Linked DNA regions of Homo sapiens: all the other regions are linked to region 2. The links are contacts of gene promoters, found by promoter capture Hi-C in human tissues and cell types (Jung and others, 2019). All regions are on one chromosome and are shown on one strand. The core of a region is centred on a gene start or on the middle of the fragment in contact, and the rest is flanking DNA. Distances in the headings are between cores, read along the strand shown.

Region 1 (3,000 bases), core at 54-2,553, 790 kb before region 2:
GTGCCACCATGCCTGGCTAATTTTTGTGTTTTTAGTAGAGACGGGGTTTCACCATATTGGCCAGGCTGGTCTTGAACTCCTGACCTCAGGTGATCTGCCCCCCTCGGCCTCCCAAAGTGCTGGGATTACAGGCGTGAGCCACCATGCCCTGTCCCTACCTCAGTTTTGAGTGTGTCTTTGTTCTTCTCTTTTACTAGAATTTGAACAGAGAGGTGGACGTGAAACTTAACAGGCAGCTTTTTTTCTTTTCTTTTTTTATTATAGTAAAATAAGTAACTATGGTAGAGATGCATGAATGGAGGAATTTGACTTTGATTTTTTTTTTTTGAGACAGAGTCTCGCTCTTTCACCCAGGCTGGAGTGCAGTGGCATGATCTCAGCTCACTGCAACCTCCATCTCCTGGGTTCAAGCGATCCTCCTGCTGCAGCCTCCTGAGTAGCTGGGATTACAGACGCACACCACCACACCCGGCTAGTTTTTGTAGTTTTAGTAGAGATGAGGTTTCACCTTGTTGGCCAGGCTGGTCTCGAACTCCTGACCTCAGGTGATCCACCCACCTTGGCTTCCCAAAGTGCTGGGATTTCAGGCGTGAGCCACTGCGCCCGACCTTTTTTTTTTTTTTTTTTTTTTTTTTGAAATGGAGTCTTTCTATGTTGCCCAGGCTGGAGTGCAGTGGCACAATCAGCTCACACAGCCTCTGCCTCCCGGGTTCAAGCAGTTCTCCTGCCTCAGCCTCCTCAGTAGCCGGGATTACAGGCGTGTGCCACTATGTCTGGCTAATTTTGGTATTTTTGCAATTTTTTTTTTTTTTGAGATGGAGTTTTTTTCTCTTGTTGCTCAGGCTGGGGTGCAATGGCATGATCTCGATCTCGGCTCACCTCAACCTCCACCTCTCAGGTTCAAGCAATTCTCCTGCCTCAGCCTCCCGAGTAGCCGGGATTACAGGCATGGGCCACCACACCCAGCTAATTTTGTATTTTTAGTAGGGATAGGGTTTCTCCATGTTGGTCAGGCTGGTCGTGAACTCCCAACCTCAGGTGATTTGCCTGCCTTGGCCTCCCAGAGTGCTGGGATTATAGGCGTGAGCCACTGCGCAGCCCTAATTTTGGTATTTTTGGTAGAGATGGGTTTCACCATGTTGGCCAGGCTGGTCTCGAACTCCTGACCTCAGGTGATCCACTCACCTCGGCCTCCCAAAGTGTTGGGATTACAGGTGTGAGCCACTGTGCCCGGCCTGATTTTTTTGTCAGATTTTACTTATTTGCGGTATGCCAGCTTGACCCTATTTAGGTTTGAAAGCAAATGGTTGGAGCTAAGACTATCTGATATTTCCTATGCAGTTCAAAGGAAGATTTAATTCTGTCATGCCTTACAAAGAGTGAATGAGGTGGATAGAGCACGTTAGTCTTAAAATCCTGATTCAGTTCTTTTTTTTTTTTTTTTTTGAGACGGTGTCTCGCTCTGTTGTCCAGGCTGGAGTGCAGTGGTGTAATCCGGGCTCACTGCAAGCTCCGCATCCTGGGTTCATGCCGTTCTCCTGCCTCAGCCTCCCGAGTAGCTGGGACTACAGGCGCCTGCCACCACGCCCGGCTAATTTTTTTGTATTTTAAGTAGAGACGGGGTTCCACCATGTTAGCCAGGATGGTCTCAATCTCCTGACCTCGTGATCCGCCCGCCTCGGCCTCCCAGAGTGCTGGGATTACAGGCGTGAGCCGCCACGCCTGGCCCTGATTCAGTTCTTATAAAATAATTAATACCTAGATTAGATCGGTGTAGTGTGGCATTGCTTGGTAGTTAGAATACCATTTGTGTTTACACTGAAATAAAAAGTTTTACCAACTTTTAAAGAGTTAAAAAAAAAAAGAGTTAAAAACCTAAGTGCAGCCCTACACTTTTAACTTAGGCTTTGTTCTTACATGTGTTGTCCAGACTGCCTTTCCATGCTGTCTGCCGCAGATTATGCTGAGTTGTCATTGGTTTCTTTTAATATTCAGTAGTTACAGAATAATAGGGTAAGAGGGGGGATGCTTATCTATCCTACCTCTGGTTGGTTCTTTCCTACATAAGCAAAGCATCACTTATTTTGAAATGAATAATGTTTTTCTTTCCTTTTTTTTCCTTTTTTTTTTGAGATAGGGTCACACTCTGTCACCAGTATAGTGGTGTGATCATGGCGGCAGTGAACTTGAACCTCCTGGGCGCACACTATCCTCCCATCCATACTTTACCTCGAAAGTAGCTGGGACTACAGATGTCCACGACCATGCCTGACTAGTTTTTTTGTATTTTTTGTAGAGACAAGAGTTTTGCCACGTAGTCCAGGCTGGTCTCGAACTCCTTGGCTCAAGCCATCTGCCTGCCTTGGCCTCCCAAAGTGCTGGGCTTACAGGTGTGAGCCACCGTGTTCAGCCATTATTATTACTATTTTTTAATTTTTTTTATTCTCTTTATACACGTCCTTGGTGCTTCAGAGGCGTACATTGTTAATGATGAATATTTTTGAGATAGTGGCCCTTTAAAAAAGCAACCTTTATTTTGAATGTTTAATCCAATGTATTTAATCAGATCTGAAAATTTGTGGTTGTCATTGGCTTAACTGTCACTTCAGAGTTGACTTCTGTCAGAAAACTGTGTTATGTTTTCATGTGGAATAGGTAATTTTACTGAACAGGGTGTCTTGATATGCCTTTCATTTGTTTTCACTGGTGATTCTATGTTCTGCTTTTTTTATGCTTTAGATCATTGTAAAAAAAATATGGTGAATGCTTTGTGGTTTTGTTTTGTTTTGTTTTTTTTTTTTGAAACAAGGTCTTGCTCTGTCACACAGGCTAGAGTGCAGTGGCCCTGATGTTGGCTCACTTCAACCTCTGCCTCCCAGACTCAAGTGATCCTCCCCCCTCAGCCTCATCAGTTGCTGGGAATACATGTGCACATCACCACGCTTGAGCCCAGGCTGGTCTCTAACTCTTGTGCTCAAGCAGTCTTCCTGCCTTGGCCTC
Region 2 (3,405 bases), core at 170-2,669:
GCTGAGGCAGGAGAATGGCGTGAACCCGGGAGGTGGAGCTTGCAGTGAGTGGAGATCGCGCCACTGCACTCCAGCCTGGGCGACAGAGCGAAACTCCGTCCCAAAACAACAACAACAACAACAACAACAACAAACATATATTTCGTGGAGCAAGAAATGTCTCAAACATAGCAAGAGAGTTGGGATGCCAACGGACCAAAGGGAAAGCAAGCATGACATAGCCCCCCACTACAAGGGCTTACCTATTATCCAAGCTTTGGGAGCTAGGTTAGAATCCCAGCTCTGTCGCTAACCAACCTGTGTACTTTAGCCAAGTCACTGTACCTGTCTAGACTTCGGATCGCATGTGTGTCTGCCCATCTCATAGGGTTACCCTGAGGCTAAATGAGGTAACAAATGTCATGAACCCACAAGGTAGACTCGACTCTCGGTAACAGTTCGTGTCACCCCCATCTCACACTACTCTCCCTCTTCGGACCCTGCACCCATGGATTCCATCCACCGCTGGCCAGGAGCTGAGTAGAGGCACCGAGCACGTGAAGAGGTGAATGGGCAAGGAAGGCTTCCAGGTCAGGTAGCATTTCCAGTGTTCCAGCCTGCAGGCATCTACCGAGCCTGGCCCGAGGCTGGCACCCAGAGATGCTTCCAGTCTTCCAGCAGCAACGCACTGACTGTAAGAAAAGCCTGCTTATAAACCCCCTACAGGCATTTGGAAGCTGGTCCCTGGGGTCCTCTACAGATTCATTTCGCCCCCAAACCCATCCCCTTTGTGCCACCCTCGTTATTGCACTCTTCCATCCGGATGGCATTTAGCTGGGTCCGGGTCTGTCACCCGTCTGACCACCAGCTCCTTGAGGGCAAGAGGCGCCTGCTGCCCTCAGGGTCCGCGCCCAGCCCGCAGCTGCTCAGATCCGGAGACGGGAAGGTTTGTTGGCGAGAACCTGACTCCCGGGTCACAGTTAAGGATGCAAGAGCCCGGCGCCTTCCCGTAGCCCCGGCCCTGTCATTAATTAATGCTGGGGCTCCATTCGGTGCAGCGCAGTCCCAGGGATGCAACCGCAACTTTTGCGCACAATAGGCTCTCGATCTGTAATCCAGCCAACCCAGGCCTGTAGTGTGTAAATGCCAACTCAGCGGGAGGGCTCTGGCTGTCGCCCAGAGCCGTTTCTCGGCTCTTTCGCGGTTGCCGGCGCGCTCGGGACAGGAGGAACCCGCAGCCCGCGGGAGTCAGCGGAGACCCGACCAGCACTATCCAGCCCTCTGCACCGCCCCCGCGGCGAGGTCTGGACCAAGTCGCCCCTAGCAACAACAGCCGGGCCGGCTTTCTCAGGCCATGCTGATTGGCGGGACTCCGGGTGGCGGCCTGTCGTCACTTCCGGCAGCCGGAGGCAGCAGAGGAAGCCGAGGGGCGGCCATCTTGGCTCCGTGAGGCTCTGAGGTGCCGGGGTGCGGCGGCGGCAGCGGCGGCCAGCAGGGCGGAGGCTGAGGCAGCAAGCTCGCTAGAGAGGGAGAAGCAGTCGGGCGCAGGCGCCTCCTCCGCAGCCCGCTCCATGGTCGGCGCCCACAGCCCGCGGCGGCCTGTCTTGCGCTCCACTTCCTTCACATCCTCCTCCGCCTCCTCGTTTTCAGGCGCCGCCGGCGGCGCTGTGTGGAGGCCCGCGAGCTGAAATTCGCGGTGCGACGGGAGGGAGTGGAGAAGGAGGTGAGGGGGCCCAGGATCGCGGGGCGCCCTGAGGCAAGGGGACGCCGGCGGGCCGAAGCGCAGCCCGCCGCCCGCAGGCTCGGCTCCGCCACTGCCGCCCTCCCGGTCTCCTCGCCTCGGCCGCCGAGGCAGGGAGAGAATGAGCCCCGGGACCCGCCGGGGGACGGCCCGGGCCAGGCCCGGGATCTAGACGGCCGTAGGGGGAAGGGAGCCGCCCTCCCCACGGCGCCTTTTCGGAACTGCCGTGGACTCGAGGACGCTGGTCGCCGGCCTCCTAGGGCTGTGCTGTTTTGTTTTGACCCTCGCATTGTGCAGAATTAAAGTGCAGTAAAATGTCCACTAGGACCCCATTGCCAACGGTGAATGAACGAGACACTGAAAACGTAAGTAACCTGGGCGTTGTAGTTGGCGGACCTTCGGGGTGGCATTCGTGCTCCTCGGGCAGTGCCTTGCAGTCGGGTGTTCCCCCCAGCCGAACGCTCTGGAAATAGAGGGCAGGCCGTAGTCACCCAGGAGGCAGCCAGGTCGGACCGTTTCCTCCAGAAGTCTGCCGTGTCCCGCTGTTCGCGGGCGGGTCTGCGAAGTACATCGATTATGCCGGCAGTCTAGTCGGTTAATAAAGCCCAGGAGTTGCAGCGTTACGGATCGGTGCTTTGAGAGGCCAGGTTGCCGCGCAATGGATTGTGCAAACGTGTGTGTCAGATCACTGCAGTGGTCAGTGCTTATTTTAGCCGAACTCTGCTTTTAACTTGGTCAGGCAGTTCTTGAGAGACTGTCACATTAATAACATATGTTACCGGTGCTGATTAAGAGTAATCGATTGGGTCAAGTGGGCGGTCTCGTTCTTTAAGATGGTCTGGAACTAAATTTAATCACAGTCACTAAGTGTCCACTGAGGGATCTTTGCGGTCCCCTTAGGAATTCCAAAACACTAGCGCGCAGCCTTTATTAAGGCAGTTTCCTTTCCATACAAATCTTTTTTGAAGGAGTTGGTTAAACATTTTGAAAAGCAGATGTATAGTGAAGCTCTGCTCTGCCACTCACTGCCTAGCTGAGGGACACCCGCTGGGGGCTTCGCTGTCCTCCTTCCTAAAAAGAGATTGGCTTAGATGAGCTCTTAGGTCCCTTTCAGCGCTCACAGGCTATGGTTTTATAAAAGGAACCTTTGATTTTGTTCATGTGAAACTACAAAATGCCAGGAACAGCATTGCTAGAGAATGAGAACTTGTAGTAGAAATTCCATTGAAGAAACGTTTGACTCTGTTCGTTTTCTAACTCTGTTCTCCTCTAACACTGGGTTCAAAAGTGTTTCAATCTAGTTGTTGACTATATTCTGTAAAACATCTAGTAAATAATTTGTAAAGAAACTTCACTGGCCTTTCATTAAAAGTGTTATGAGGTAATTGCTGGCACGAAATGTCTTCTCTTAGGGAATGCTTCCTTGCTTTGAGTGTTTTCATGCTTTCAGTAATGTCCTGAGATGTTGTGGCCTAGTGGAGTTAATGCTTTCATTTTGATCTTCAAAAATGCCGCTTGTTTGCTGGATAGCTGTTTGATAATTTAATCCGTAAACGTAAACCATAGCCTAAAGCATCCCTGTAGCATATTAGTATACAATATTTAATGCTCTGTGGCCCTGAGTAAGTAGAACAGTGATGTACCTTTCTCCACCTGAGATAGATTAGAAAATTATATAAAGAGTG
Region 3 (3,052 bases), core at 122-2,621, 620 kb before region 2:
TGGTGGCAGGCGCCTGTAATCCCAGCTACTCAGGAGGCTGAGGCAAAGAATTGCTTGAACCTGGGAGGCAGAGGTTGCAGTGAGCCAAGATTGCGCCACTGCACTCCCGCCTTGGCGACAGAGTGAGACTCTGTCAAGGAAAGAAAGAAAGAAGAAAGGAAGGAAGGAAGGAAGGAAGAAAGAAAGAGAAAGGAAGGGAAGGGAAAAGAAAGAAAAGAAAAGAAAAAAAAAAAGAGGGAAATTGAAAGTTGGTAGTTATGGAAAATCACCTACATTGCAATCATGCACGGGATTTAACGTCTTAAAACAACTAATTTACCACAGAGGTGCAATGAGACCCCGAATTTGTGAATCCACTGATTTTTTAAATTCTTGCTACCCAAGACAGAGAACACAGGGGATCTCTGTGTTATGGGGCTCATCAGACCCCTTTATTTAGCCTTCAGATGGGAAGCCCCACCCCACCCTGCCCTGGAAGAGCCGCCTTCTTGGGGAGTTGCTTTCATGGACCCAGCTCCAGGGAAGATGGGTGGCCTGGATTCCTTCATTGCTACTCACCCAACTCAGCCCTCCAGGACCTCTCAAGGCCTTACGGCACCCCCGAGTTTGGAAATTCTACTTGTAATTGGGTTTATTAATTAGAGTTCATGCTTCAGGTGAATAAGACACAAATACAATTGGGCTGCCCCACACATAACCTGGGTAAGAAGAACAAAGTCAGAGTTGGTCATTGAAACAACTCCCAGAGACAAACAGCAGCAGGGGTTGAGAGTGGATTCTTTTTTGGGGTAGGGGCAGGGGACAGGGTCTTGCTCTGTCACCCAGGCTGGAATTCAGTGGTGCAGTCATGCTCACTACAGCTTCAATCTCCCAGGCTCAAGCGATCCTCCCACCTCGGCCTCCTGAGTAGCTGAGATCACAGGCACACGTCACCATGGCTGGCTAATTTTTAAATTTTTTATAGAGATGGGGTCTCATTATGTTGTCCAAGCTGGTCTCAAACTCTTGGGCTCAAGTGATCCTCCTGCTTTGGCCTCCCAAATTGCTGGAGTTACAGGCAAAAGCCGCCGCTCCTACACAAACACATACACACACACACACACACATTTTATATATATATAATGTATATATATAGAGAGAGCGCCAGGTTTTTGATTGGCCTGGACTGGGTGGAGGTCTGGCCTTGAGTTTCTTTCATGTTCACACTTGGTGAGGCCAGGGGGTGGCCAAAGACCCTCAGTCTTTTTCTTTTTCTTTTCTTAATTTTGTTTTTGAGACAGGGTCTCAGTCTGTCACCCAGGCTGGAGTGCAGTGGTGCAGCCTTGGCTCACTGTAGCTATGACCATCTGGGCTCAAGTGATCCTCCCACCTTGGCTTCCCAAGTAGCTGGGACTACAGGCAGACACCACCATGTCCAGCTATTTATTTATTTTTGATATTTTGTAAAGACAGTCTCATTATATTGCCCAGGCTAATCTCGAACTCTTGGACTCAAGCGCTCCTCCTGCCTCAGCTTCCCAAAGTGCTGGGATTATAGGCATGAGCCATGGCCCTTGGCCAGACTCCAATTTTCAGCCCCGCAAATGCACTTCAAATTCACATATTAAATAAAGGAATCTTGCTTATTATGGCAATGAGAATTCAAGACAGGTTCCTCCAACTCTTCCAGACAGATGGCCCTACCATAAGCTTCTCCAGTGTGGACATGCCAGAGCCAGCCTCAGCTCTGAGCCCAGCCCCGGGCCACAGTCCTGTGTGGGCAGTTACTTATTATGAAGCATGACACAGTGAAACTGGAGGCGTATGGATGGGACAGATGAGACTTGGGGTGGATGGCCCACTTACTCATTCACTCATTCATTCATTCACTTAGTTGAATGTTCTGAGGGCTGCCCAGGGCTTCCTACCATGGAGAGTGAGCATGGTCTCCACCCTCTCCAGGCTGTGGGCAGCCCTGGGGAGAGGGAACCAGCCAGGAGGACCAAAGCCTCTGGCAGAGAACTGGGTGGCGAGAGGAGGCCTGGCATTCTCTGCTCAGGACAGTTCAGGAGCGCAAGTGAGTTGACCCATGATCATTTTTATTGACTGATTGACTGCTTTAGAGACAGAGTCTCGCTCTGTCGCCCAGGCTGGAGTGTAGTGGTGCAATCTGGGCTCACTGCAACCTCTGCCTCCTGGGTCCAAGCGATTTTCCTGCCTCAGCCTCCCAAATAGCTGGGACTACAGGTGTGCGTCAACACGCCTGTTTAATGTTTGTATTTTTAGTAGACACTGGGTTTCACCATGTTGGCCAGGCTGGTCTCAAACTCCTGACCTCAAGTGATCCGCCCGCCTCGCCCTCCCAAAGTGCTGGGACTACAGGCGTGAGCCACCGTGCCTGGCCCCCAGTGTTATTTTAATTATGTGGGGGTAGATATCATTTTTACCCATGGCAACTGATCATGGAGCCCAGAGTTAAACCACCTTTCACATACTGAGGAAAGACGGGCTGATCCTTCCACAGTATTACAGTGACAGCTTCCAAAAGACCGCCCTGTGCCTTTCTTCTGGATTATCATGGCACCCCCCAGGACACGTTGGCCTCGTTGTCCTCACCAGCACTGGCTGTCTTCTCGAAGCTCCCTTGGGGTAGGGCAGGCTAACTTATTTCCGCTGTACAAAAGGGGAAACCCTGGGTCAGGAGGTACAGAAGTGCCTTCCTAAGAGCATATGGTTAGTCATGAGTTGAGTTCTGCTTTTTCGATTTCTGGTGGAGAATTCTCTTGCTCTAGTGATTCCTCATGGGTTCATTTTTCCTAGGGAGCTCATCACCATTATTTTTTGGGGGGCCTCTTGGCAAGAAGAGCTGGGGGCTTGTCCTCTGGTGTCCTCCATGCTCCAGGCACGAAGCCACTGTGCCAGGCCAGGGGCCCATTTGGGGGTGAATATCACGGGTTTATCATGAATTTGCCTGAAGTTCAACAGATATTTATTGGCTGGAAGAAAGTGGAGATTAACTAGAAGGTTACTTTTGATAGAATACAAGCTGTCAATCAAACTTTACAGTGGCCGC

The links. The method cuts DNA at HindIII sites, captures the fragments that hold promoters and counts their contacts. A contact is called where the count stands out against the background at its distance.
Region 1: a contact is called between a fragment that was not itself captured here and the fragment with the promoter of MARK3 in region 2, in 2 of the 25 tissues and cell types used here (aorta and dorsolateral prefrontal cortex).
Region 3: a fragment that was not itself captured here is called in contact with the fragment with the promoter of MARK3 in region 2 in 1 of the 25 tissues and cell types used here (dorsolateral prefrontal cortex).

The regions. Positions count from the first base shown.
Region 1 is chr14:102,597,020-102,600,019 of GRCh38, forward strand. The region is part of intron 2 of RCOR1 (REST corepressor 1); the gene reads left to right. Among named protein-coding and RNA genes, the nearest start is that of RCOR1, 5.9 kb to the left of the region's middle. The HindIII fragment of the contact is 7,779 bases long and covers 1-3,000 here.
Region 2 is chr14:103,383,996-103,387,400 of GRCh38, forward strand. It overlaps MARK3 (microtubule affinity regulating kinase 3), which reads left to right and starts at 1,420. Exons shown (of 18, transcript NM_001128918.3): 1 at 1,420-2,085. The coding sequence starts at 2,035. RefSeq lists enhancers at 245-1,236, 1,237-2,226, 2,167-2,356 and a silencer at 1,697-1,886. The HindIII fragment of the contact is 8,681 bases long and covers 1-3,405 here.
Region 3 is chr14:102,765,790-102,768,841 of GRCh38, forward strand. No RefSeq gene overlaps it. Among named protein-coding and RNA genes, the nearest start is that of TRAF3, 10 kb to the right of the region's middle. The HindIII fragment of the contact is 6,726 bases long and covers 1-3,052 here.